3 separate regions of the Homo sapiens genome follow, and all the other regions are linked to region 3. Evidence: promoter capture Hi-C in 16 types of primary human blood cells and fetal thymus (Javierre and others, 2016). All regions are on one chromosome and are shown on one strand. The core of a region is centred on a gene start or on the middle of the fragment in contact, and the rest is flanking DNA. Distances in the headings are between cores, read along the strand shown. Region 1 has its middle 44 kb from the start of ANXA4. Region 2 overlaps GMCL1 (germ cell-less 1, spermatogenesis associated). Region 3 holds the start of GFPT1 (glutamine--fructose-6-phosphate transaminase 1).

Evidence for each region. Contacts are between HindIII fragments. The CHiCAGO score rates a contact against its expected background, and 5 or more counts as called.
Region 1: a fragment that was not itself captured here is called in contact with the fragment with the promoter of GFPT1 in region 3 in 1 of 17 cell types (naive B cells); the score reaches 6.1 in naive B cells.
Region 2: a contact is called between a fragment that was not itself captured here and the fragment with the promoter of GFPT1 in region 3, in 1 of 17 cell types (total B cells). The highest score is 5.2, in total B cells.

Annotation. Positions count from the first base shown.
Region 1 is chr2:69,696,166-69,699,770 of GRCh38, forward strand. It overlaps a transcript of ANXA4 not described here. Among named protein-coding and RNA genes, the nearest start is that of ANXA4, 44 kb to the right of the region's middle. The HindIII fragment of the contact is 160 bases long and covers 1,445-1,604 here.
Region 2 is chr2:69,840,305-69,844,011 of GRCh38, forward strand. GMCL1 (germ cell-less 1, spermatogenesis associated) reads left to right here. Exons shown (of 14, transcript NM_178439.5): 4 at 638-735; 5 at 2,845-2,957. Among named protein-coding and RNA genes, the nearest start is that of GMCL1, 12 kb to the left of the region's middle. The HindIII fragment of the contact is 1,043 bases long and covers 815-1,857 here.
Region 3 is chr2:69,385,145-69,389,015 of GRCh38, forward strand. GFPT1 (glutamine--fructose-6-phosphate transaminase 1) reads right to left here and starts at 2,083. Exons shown (of 20, transcript NM_001244710.2): 1 at 1,921-2,083. The coding sequence starts at 1,927. RefSeq lists silencers at 1,663-2,332, 2,393-2,502 and an enhancer at 1,875-2,434. The HindIII fragment of the contact is 6,543 bases long and covers 1-3,871 here.

The DNA of each region.
Region 1 (3,605 bases), core at 275-2,774, 310 kb after region 3:
TGGATTCCATCCTCTCAAACCCTTAGTTGATGCTTTATCAACTAAGTTTATGGAACATTCTCAATCGTTTCTTGTCATTTCAACACTGCTCACAGCACCTTCACCAGAAGCAGCTTCCATCTCAAGAAATCACTTTCTTTGCTCATCCACAGAAAGCAATTTCTCATCTGTTCAAGTTTAATCATGAGATTGCAGCAATTCAGTCACATCTCCAGGTACCACTTCTAATTCCAGTTCTCTTGCTATTTTCACCACATCTGCAGTGACTTGCTCCATTGAAGTCTCAGACCCCACAGTCATCCACGAGAGTTAAAATCAGCTTCCTCCAAACTCTGTTGATGTTGATAGTTTGCCCTTCTCTCATGAATCATGAGTATTTATAATAACATCTAAAATGGTGAATCCTTTCCAGAAGGTTTTCAATTTACTTTGCCCAGATCCATCAGAGGAATCACTATCTATGGCAGCTACAGCCTTACAAATGTATTTCTTAAATAACAAGACTTGAAAGTCAAAAATCACTCCTTGATCCATGGGCTACAGAATGGATGTTGTGTTAGCAGGCATGAAAACAACATTCAGCTCCTTGTACATCTCCATCAGAGTTCTTGGGTGACTAGGTGCATTGTCAAGAAGCAGTAATATATTAAAAAGGAATCTTTTTTATTTTTTGAGTAGTAAGTCTCAACAGCAGGCTTAAATTATTCAGTAAACCATGCTATAAACAGATGTGCTGTCATCCAGGCTTTGTTGCTCCATTTATACAGCACTGGCAGAGTAGATTTAGCATAATACTTAAGGGTCCTAGGATTTCCAGAATGGTAAATGAGCACCATGTTCAACTTAAAGTCACCAGCTGCATTAGTCCCTAACAAGAGAGTCGCCTGTCCTTTGAAGCTAGGCATTGACTTCTCTCTAGCTACGAAAGTCCTAGATGGCATCTTCTTCTAGTAGAAGGCTGTTTCATCTCCATCGAAAATCTATTGTTCAGTGTAGCCACCTTCATCTATGATCTTAGCTAGATCTTCTGGATAACTTGCTGCAGCTTCTCCATCAGCACTTGCCTCTTCACCTTGCACTTTTATGTTATAGAGATGGCTTCTTGCCTTAAATCTCATGAAGCAACCTCTGCTAGCCTCAGACTTTTGTTCTGCAGCTTCCTTACGTCTCCCAGCCTTCGCAGGATTGAAAAGAGTTTAGTGCCTTGTTCTAGGCTAGGCTTTGGATGAAGGGAATGTTGTTGCTGGTTTGATCTTCTATCCAGCTCACTGAAACTTTCTCCGTATCAATGCTGTTTCGCTTTCTTATCATACTTGTGTTCACTGGAGTAGCACTTTTAATTTCCTTCAAGAATTTTTCCTTTGCATTCACAACTTGGCTATCTGTTTGGCACAAGAAGCCTAGCTTTTGGCCTGTCTCAGCTTTTGACACACCTTGCTTACTAAGCTTAATCATTTCTAGCTTCGGATTCAAAAATGAGAGATGCACATGATTCTTCCTTTCACTTGAACACTGAGAGGCCATCGTAGGGTTGTTAATTGGCCTAATGTCAATATTGTTGTGTCTGAGCAGTGGAGCAGTCAGTATATAACATTTATTAATTAAGCTTGCTATTCTGTATGGGCACAGTTTATGGTGCCCTAAACATTAACAATGGTAACATCAAAGATACCTGGGGCCAGGTGTGGTGGCTCAGGGACTGGGCAAAGTGGTTCATTCCTATAACCTGAGCACTTTGAAAGGCTGAGATGGGAGGATCTCTTAAGCCCAGGAGTTTGAGGCTAGCCTGGGCAACACAGTGAGACCCCATCTCAAAAAAAAAAAAAAAAAAAGAATACTATAGATTGAGTGGTTTAAAAACAACAGAAATTTATTTCTCACAGATCTGGAGGCCGAGAAGTCCAGGATCAAGGCACTGGCAGATTCAGAGTCTGATGTGGCCTGCTTTCTGGTTCATAGTTGTTATCACCTTGCTCTGTCCTCACATGACTGAAGGAGCAAGGAAGCTCTTCTGAGTCTCTCTCATACGAGCACTAATCTCATTCATGAGGGTTCTGCTCATTCATGAATTTCCTCCCAAAGGTTCCGCCTCCTAATACCATCACCTTGAGGATTGGGATTTTAACCTATGAATTTTGCGGGACACAAACATTCAGTCTATAGCAGATGGAAGATGAAGCCCAGCTTTCTAGGAAGCCCCCACCCGCAGAAATTTATGGAGCTAAAAAACTGCCCTTCAACTCCCTCCATTTCCTTGGCTGGCCTCTTCCCCCGACATCTCCCTGTTGTTTCTCCACAGGGAGCTTTTATTCATTGAGAAGGCCAGAACAGAGTGGGGACAGCCATGAGGTGCAGATAGTGGGAGCCTAGGGCGGCAGAGAAGGATGACCAGAGGGCCTGGGGGCAGGAGTGTCACCTATGGAAGGAATGGATCCTGGGGACAAGCTGCGTTGTCGGCTCTGACTAGGTGGGGCGGGGCAGGACTGTGCGATGGGCAAGTGTGAACTGTTACTGTCTCCATTATGCAGATGAAGGAACTGAGACTCGATCATGAGGGGGATTCAATTCTGGTCCTTGTCACTCTGAGGCTTGTGTCCTTTCTGCGCTACCAAGCTTTGTCTCTGCTTCTCAAGATGGTGATACAACTACTAATTCATAAAGCTCTGCAAGAGGGTGGTGGTTTTGAGTTGTAATTTCAATGAAGAGGGAGAAGAAGTAGAAAGAAACTAGGTTTATTTTTATGCTTTGGAATATTGATTGAAAGAATCAAAAGGATATAAGAGGATAAGGCAGGAAAAGTGGAACAAGAGCTAAACAACAAAGCCTGGAAAATAGACTATACTAATATCTTAAAAAGCTGATGGATTGAAGGAAAGATTCGGGTGAGGGGGGACAACTGAAGATATGAATCATGGGTAAAGAGGAGGATGTGATGGTCTTTGCCAAGCACCAGCACTGGCAGTGGGAGTGTGTGGGGTGGGGTCTAGCGCTCATGTTCATGACATAGAGGAGGACCTGGGCCTAGAGCCACTCAGTAAACTGGTGGCAGAGCCAGGGTAAACTTTGGTCTCCTGGCCCCACCTTCCAGGGCTCTTTTCTCTATTTTGTGCACTCAGAGAAGGGAGTTAAAAGATCAAAGATGTGGAAAGCACATGTGAAAAGTTAGAGGACACCCACATAGTAAGAAACTTAGGGCCAGGTGTGGTGGCTCATGTCTGTAATCCCAGCACTTTGGAGACTGAGGTGGGAGGATCACTTGAGCCCAGGAGTTCAAGACCAGCCCTGGCTACATAGTGAGACCTCATTCTATGAGAAAATGAGAAATAAATAAGCCAGGCGTGGTGGTGTGAACCCGTAGTCTCAGCTACTCAGGAGACTGAGGAGGGAGGATTCCTTGAGCCCAGGCTGCAGTGAGCTATGATCATGCCACTGTGTTCCAGCCTAGATGACAGTGAGACCCTGTCCCAAAAAACAAAACAAAACAAAACAAAAAACAAGAAACAAACAACAACAGAAAAAAAACAAATTTAGGCTTACCACTTGAGGTGGACTTGATACTCCTAAAACCTGAGGGGTAATAAAAAGATGCAGGTTGAGGTGCCAGG
Region 2 (3,707 bases), core at 86-2,585, 450 kb after region 3:
GAGGCTGAGGCAGGAGAATGGCGTGAACCCGGGAGGCAGAGCTTGCAGTGAGCCGAGATCGCGCCACTGCACTCCAGCCTGGGCGACAGAGCGAGACTCCATCTCAAAAAAAAAAAAAAGAATATTTACAAAGCAAACCATGTGGGACATTCATAACAGTGGCAGTGGAGGAAGGATGAACAGGCATAGATCACTGTGGGGGCTGGGAATGAGTGTGGCATGGACAGGACTCAGGAGCTGTACCACATTTCTCAGTGGTGGAGTGCTGAAAGCAGCCGGGTTAAGATTATCTTTGAGTCTGCGTATTTGTACTTAACGATTGGTCTACTGAGGAGTATCTTATACAACTTCTTGCAAGGCATCTTGGTTGTGACCACTGATGTCAAGATTACATGTTAGAAGAATGCAGCTAGATTTGGTAGAATAAACAGAAATTTATAACCTTGTTATTAAATTAACAGTGTCAACCAGTAACCATTACTAGCGTTTTAATTAGAGATACTTCTGTTATCCTTTTATGTGCATGCCACATTTAGACGGATGTCTTTGTGTGTGAAGACAGTCGTTGTTGTTATTTGTATAACACTTGTAATAGATATAAATATTATTTCATCCTACATGTGTACCTTGCTTTCAGCACTGCAGGTTGCATTTGGTTCACTGTATCGAGATGATGTCTTGATAAAGCCCAGTCGAGTTGTTGCCATTTTGGCAGCAGCTTGTTTGCTGCAGTTGGTAAGTATGCACGTTATTCGAAGAAAGGTTCAGAATAATAATCTTTGTCTCAAAGTGTGTACTCCAAAAACAAAAATAAAGCTTAGCTTTTTTGGAGTTTTTAAATAAAAATGAAATGTATAAATATGACATTTATTATAAATCATTTAAAATGCCTAACCAAAAGCAATTTATTACAACCGAGGGAGTCATGATGTCTGCATAAAATGAATGCAGGCCATTTCTGTGTAGATATCTTAGTATGACTATAATGTGGAAAAAACGTACTTGTCTAAGGTCATTTACAGATTTCATTAATGACTTGACTATTAAGCAGATGGCTTATGATTACCAATTAATTTCATTCATGGGTTCAAATAAACATGCATGCCTACTATTTAAATTTCTCTTAATTTTGAAAGAATTGTGTATAAATCACATATATGTATTTTAATCTACTGGCAGAATGACAGATTTGTTCATTGAAGAGAAGTGTGTTGAGCACTGTGTCAAACTAGACACAGAAAGCCAAAGGTAACTTAAGACGTAATCCTTACTTTCAAAAAGTTCACAACATAGTATGTATGTGTGGAGAGGGGAGGGAGGGTTGATATACAAACCCAAAGGTAAAGTAAGAGCTGTTCAATATTATAGGTATGATAATAAACATCCTGTAGCATTTAGTGAATGGATAAAGAAGGGAGTGGTCAGTTCATCCTGGTGGTGTCACATACGAAAGTTACATTTTCACACAGAGTCTTGAAAGTGTGTTTGTATTGCAAAGTAAGAAGAGGGGAAGGAAGAGCATTTCAGACAGAGAGAACAGAGTAAACTAAGATCTAGTGATGTGAAATAATGGAGGATTCAAGACTCTAACAGAAACATGGCTCCCACATAAACATAAGAAGGATTGCAGAAGAGGGGGGCAGAAGCCAGATCATGAAAATACATCTATACATTGCTAAGAAGTTTAGCATACACAGTACCTTTGGAATATTTTAATCAGGGGAAAGACGAAGTTATGTTTTAGAAAGAATACTTCAGTAACAATGTGACAGATGAATTGAAGGAAAGATGAGTACAGCATTAGAGACAAAAACTTGTTGCATTCGTCCAAGGGAGGAAAGTAGGGTAGTAGCAATAAGCTTGGAGGGGAAAAAGTGGATACCAGAGAGATTCAGGGATAATCCACTGGACTTGGTGATAGACTAAATGTTAAGAGGAAAGGGGAGGAGTCTAGAATGATTTCCAGGTAAGTTTAAAATCCTAATGGAGTCAATGTTTTATTTTAATCTTAAAAAATTGTTTACTTTTATGTGGTATTTTTGTACTGATTTATTTGAAGTATTAATAGCTTGCTAAATATCCTTGGTTGAGATCATTTGATTTTCAAAATGTTTTGATCCTTTCAATACTTACTTCCAATAAGTATACTTTATTATCTAACTCTGGTCCTTTTGGTTTTGTTCTAAATTCACCTTCTGCTTACTTTTATGATTTACTAACTCTTTAACTTAATATACCTGCATGATGAATGTATTTCAGAAATTTGAATGAAAAGTAGTATTCTTCCCATATATTAAAGTTAGTTCACTTAAAACCTATATAAACATTTTAGGTTAAAACTTTAATGTTAATCATTTGAAATAATAATATACTTGTTTTAAGTCTATCTCTTAGATATTGTAGTTATTTTAAACTTGATCACTTTCTGCTAATGCATACTGTTAGTTTAGTCCCATCACATGGTTAACTGACTATGTAGACTTCTTAATTTAAAAAGAAATGGCAAAACAGACAAAATGCTGCTAAAGAAATTTGCAAAGGTCTCAGACAGGGGAAGAATAGAAAAGAAAAAGAATAGCAGTATTCATTCTCTACCTTACTACTCCCCCCCACCTTCCATTTTCAAATTCCAAGTATTTAGTTGAATACTTGCTGAACTTTTTTCAGTATTTTTATTGGACTTGTTAAAAAAAAAAAAAAAAACTTAGGTTTGCTGCACTTAATGAGTTTTCTTTCTTTTCTTTCTTCTTTTTTTTTTTCTTTTACTTTTTAATATGTAAAAGCTGTCAGAGCTAATTTTTCCCACGTGAAATGGGCCTTTCCAGTGCTTATTTATATTTACAGGACGGTTTAATACAGCAGTGTGGTGAGACAATGAAGGAAACAGTTAATGTGAAAACTGTATGTGGCTATTACACATCAGCAGGGACCTATGGATTAGATTCTGTAAAGAAAAAGTGAGTTGCCTTTCTTGTTTTTCTTCCTATCCCACTTTTAGGAATTTGGTTGCTTTAGTTTCTTAAGAGAATGTATAGCTATAAGAAAGAAAGAATTAAGGAAAAATAGGATAGGGGGATGGAATTTTATTAAATAAAAAGCCCCTTTTAACTTTTGGACTAATTAGTAAATTCCTCAAAAGTGTCGTCTTTGTAAGTGACCATAGGTGGGTTATATACATGCTTATAAAAACCATGGTCACCTTGGTCGGGTGTGGTGGCTAACACCTGTAATCCCAGTGGTTTGGGAGGCCAAGGCAGAAAGATCACTTGGGCCCAGGAGATTAAGACCAGCCTGAGCAATGTAGGGAGACCCCATCTCTACAAAAAATTTTAAAAATTAGCCAGGCATGGTGGCATGCACCTGTGGTCCCCACTATTCTGGAGGCTGAGGTCAGAGGATTCTTTGAGCCCAGGAGGTTCAAGACTGCAATGAGCCGTGATCATGCCACTGCACTTTATAGTATATTTTCTATTAAAATTGTTTAAGAAGTAGGCCTGATAGACTGACAGTCCTTCTAACTCTTGAGAGTTGCAGTACCTGTTTTGAGATTTTAAAGAAGGTTATACTAGTATGCAGACCCCTTAATAAACTATTTAACACAAACTCAAAATGAAGTTTTAAAACTGGAAATGCTCTCGTTAATATAAAGGAAATATTCTCTTAATAATATCCACTGACAAAAATAATACTAAATTTCCTATTGTTAA
Region 3 (3,871 bases), core at 833-3,332:
AAACTCCCAACATTTAGTCTCCACCCTAAAGGTATCTCCCTTATCTGAACCTGATTTCCATATCTGATTTATTTATTTATATTTATTTATCATTTTTGAGATGGAGTTTTGCTCTTTTTTACCCAGGCTGGATTACAATGGCGCGATCCCGGCTCACTGCAACCTCCACCTCCTGGGTTCAAGCAATTCTCCTGCCTCAGCCTCCCGAGTAGCTGGGATTACAGGCGCGTACCACCACGCCCAGCTAATTTTGTATTTTTAGTAGACATGGAGTTTCACCACGTTGGCCAGGCTAGTCTTGAACTCCTGAGCTCAGGTGATCCACCTGCCTCGGCCTCCCAAAGTGCTGAGATTATAGGCGGGAGCCACCACGCCCAGCGCTGATTTATTTATTTATTTATTTTTTTTTCAGTAAGTACTTTGACTACGTTTTTTTCTTGGAACATGATGAAATGACCTGCAACCAGAATGTTGAGTACTTGATGAGGCACACCCCTCATCATTCAGGAACAGTTAACTACCAAATGAAGCACACTGGAGATTGACCAGTTTGCAAATTCACTACTTCACAGCTCCAAACTAAATGCAAAACCATTCTACTAAGTAGACACTGCAAAAGTCTGATTCTGAAGTCAGCTCTACTCTAATAATTTCAGTAAGCTATTTATAGGTGTTTCTGTTTTTATGTGGGTTTTTTTTTAATCTACTCTAAATTTAAACCTGCTCCTCATTTTCAGAAGCTGAAATGAGCATAAAGTTAAATACAGGAAATATATACACTAACGAGTACAATCCACCTCCTGTTCAGTTCCTTCGTGTAAAAGGCTGCAAATAAGAAGTCTCCCAGAGAGTTTTCAATTCTCTTACAATGGTACTTCCCTTTAAAAAAAAAAAAAAAAAGTGTACTTTCTTCCAGGGATAAAGTCGGTTGTAAATTTCAATAAGAAAGGTAAGAATACAATTATTTTTACTGGCAATAGCCAAATTAACACCAATTTTAGAAGATATCAGTCATGTCAGACACGATTCTCAAAGTCTCTTTCACTAACACTTAGGTCATAATAAACGACTCTCAAAACATGGAATAAAAGGGCCTAACCTTAATTTTTTAAGGCTCTAGGAAAGATATTTGCTCAACTTTCCATAGCTAGTATTTTTAATGGATGCACATGCAAGGGATAAATGATATTTTTCATAGTTGGTATTCTAAAGGGGTATACATCCAAGGTATAACTGATATTTTTCAGAGCTGGCATTTTTAATGGGTGCACACGCAAATGATAAATTATGTATAACCTATCGCCACAGACATTTGAAGGCCTCTTCCACCAGAGGATCAGGTCTAAGCCCATGAACCAAGTTATTGATTAGCAATGGTTTCTGTTGAGACAAGGGATGGCAGGAAGTATCACGTTTAATGGCACTACCGTGGCTCTAGCTAGGGTCTGTTTTCTATTGGGCCTCCCCAGAAACAAGTAAAATATTTTTTTAAAGATTTTTAGAAAAATGCAAGGTAAGTTCAAGAGACCTCGCCCGAGGTTCCACAGGTTTCCTCACTCACCTGGTGGGCCCTTTTGAAGGCAACCCCCTCCACACCTCAATTCCCTCAGCTCTCTCCTCCTTTTTCAATAAAGGCGTTTCTCTCCCCTTTCGGTTCCTTCTCCGCGCCAAGGCGCCCGCTAGCCCCCGGCAAAGGGGGCCCGCCTTCCTCTCAGGTGCCTTTCTCCCGGCCGCCACCCCCTCTCCCGCCCGTGGATGCCGGCCCCCGCCCCCGCAGCCACCACTGGGCGCCCCTTGCCCATCACCCAGACTTCGCACCCTCCACACTCCCGCTTCCGCCCGTCGCCTTGGGCCTTAGCGGCACCCGCACCGCACCCCAGCGCCACCCGGCAACACGCCCCCCGCTCCCGGCCCCCTTACCACACATGATGCCGGAGACACGGCCCGCGAGGCCAGGGGCGAGTGGCTGGCGGGATCGGGGGTGCACACACGAGCTTCGGTGGGCAATCTGCGGGCTCGGGGGCCGGGGTGGCGCCGACACGACTCCCTCGGGGATGCGACGGCCAAGGCAACGACAGCCTTCTCCGCCTCCCGGGCTCCGCCAGCAACCGCCGCCGGGCCCCGCCCCTCGGCGCGCAGCGCGCCGCCGCCCGTAGGCTCCATTGAACCGCTCACGCGCCGCTCACGCGCAAGTCCCGCCTCCCAGCGCTGCCCCGCCCCCCGAGCCCACGCAGGCGCTGGACTGCTGGCGGCGGCGACGTGGCAGTGGCTCGTGGCCGCGTCCGCCTGGAGTTCCTGGAGACGCCCGCCCCGGGGCGAGCCGCGGGAGGGACCGAGCCGAGAGGGAGGGAGAAACTCAGCACCTGGCAGGGAATGACGGAAAGAGAAGGATGGAATTGTTAGCAAAGCAATAGCCCGGGTGCGTGCCCCGTGCAGCCCCAGGCCCCAGGCGCCAGCACTGCACGAAGCGAGGAAAGAGGAGGAAAAAAGCAGGAAGTATGAAAAGGGAATCCTGGGGAACATAAGGCTGAAAAAAATTGCAAAGAATTAGGTTGAGGTGGGAGGAGAGAGATAACAAAATTCTTGACTGTAAAGCCCCAAAGGTCAGCCTCTCTGGTAATAAGCAATTCAATTCCTTGTGTAATATGCTTGGCCCCTAAAAGCCCTCCGCATCCGTTGCCTCCATAACCCTCAGTTTATTGTGGAGGGGTAGAGGAGGAATGTAAGGCTCAACTATCCGACTATGAGCCTGGACGTAAGAAACTGCTGGCCCACCTCCTCCCATGACCCACCTGAGACGGCTAGGAATTCCCTAGCTTTAACAGCCGCGCGTTTGACTTACGAACGATTCATTCTATGAATTAATGCGCCATGTCTGACAAGAGAGACTTGATTAGAGAGGGATGATGTTTCTGAGAATTTATTACCTGGGCATTTGCTTTAAACAGCCTTAAATGGTATCTTTAGTCAAATGTGGAGTAATCAGAACTCTATAATGGCTCTAGAGTAGAGTAGTATCAAAAACGTACATGGCACACAGAATTCCTGGAGTGCTGACTGCTGTTCATGTGTCTGGTCTTAGCCTGCTGACTGCTGTTCATGTGTCTGGTCTTAGCCGTCCTTCCAGCCCTATACACTCCCAACAGGCTCAACAGGTAGTTCCTCAACTGGGCCAAGATTCTCAAATCTTTTGCACACTTTGGTTACTCTGCATAGAATCCCCACCACGTCTCTGTTTAGATGCTACCTCTTCAGGAAAGCCTTTTTTATCCCCCCTAGACAGACTTGGAGACATGCATTAACCTCTTACTCTTTGAGCTACTCACTGTAAAGAAATATTCTTTGATATTTTATGATTTTCTGTATTTTCCCACTGGGCTGTAAGTTTCTTGAAGCTAGAACTAGATTTTACATACCCAACACTTTTAGACCACAGCACAAAGTAAAAGATCAAATTTATTTTGGAATGAGTGAAAAAAAGTCCTATTTTCTTAGCGGAATTAACCTTCTATGGCTGGTTATATGATTAAGTGAGCATAAGGCTTTCAGTTCTTCTTACGGGGAAAAGTGCCTTTTTTCACTTGCCTCAGAGAAGCTGAAAAATGTCACATTTAACTAAGCAGAGTATTTCTCACCTAAAAGCCCTTTTGATATTTCAATCCCTTAAACAGGTCCCTGGATCACCCAGAGCAAAGTTTAAAAAAAAAAAAAACAGTGAGCTTTTTGGTAATAATACATTTCTTAATTCAAGAAACAAAAGACTGTGGATATACATCTAGCCTCAGAACCCTCATCTAAGGCTCTGGTTAGAACTCCGTTGTATTACCTAAAAGCCAAGGTATGGTTCCAATGCTTAAGCAACATCTTTGTG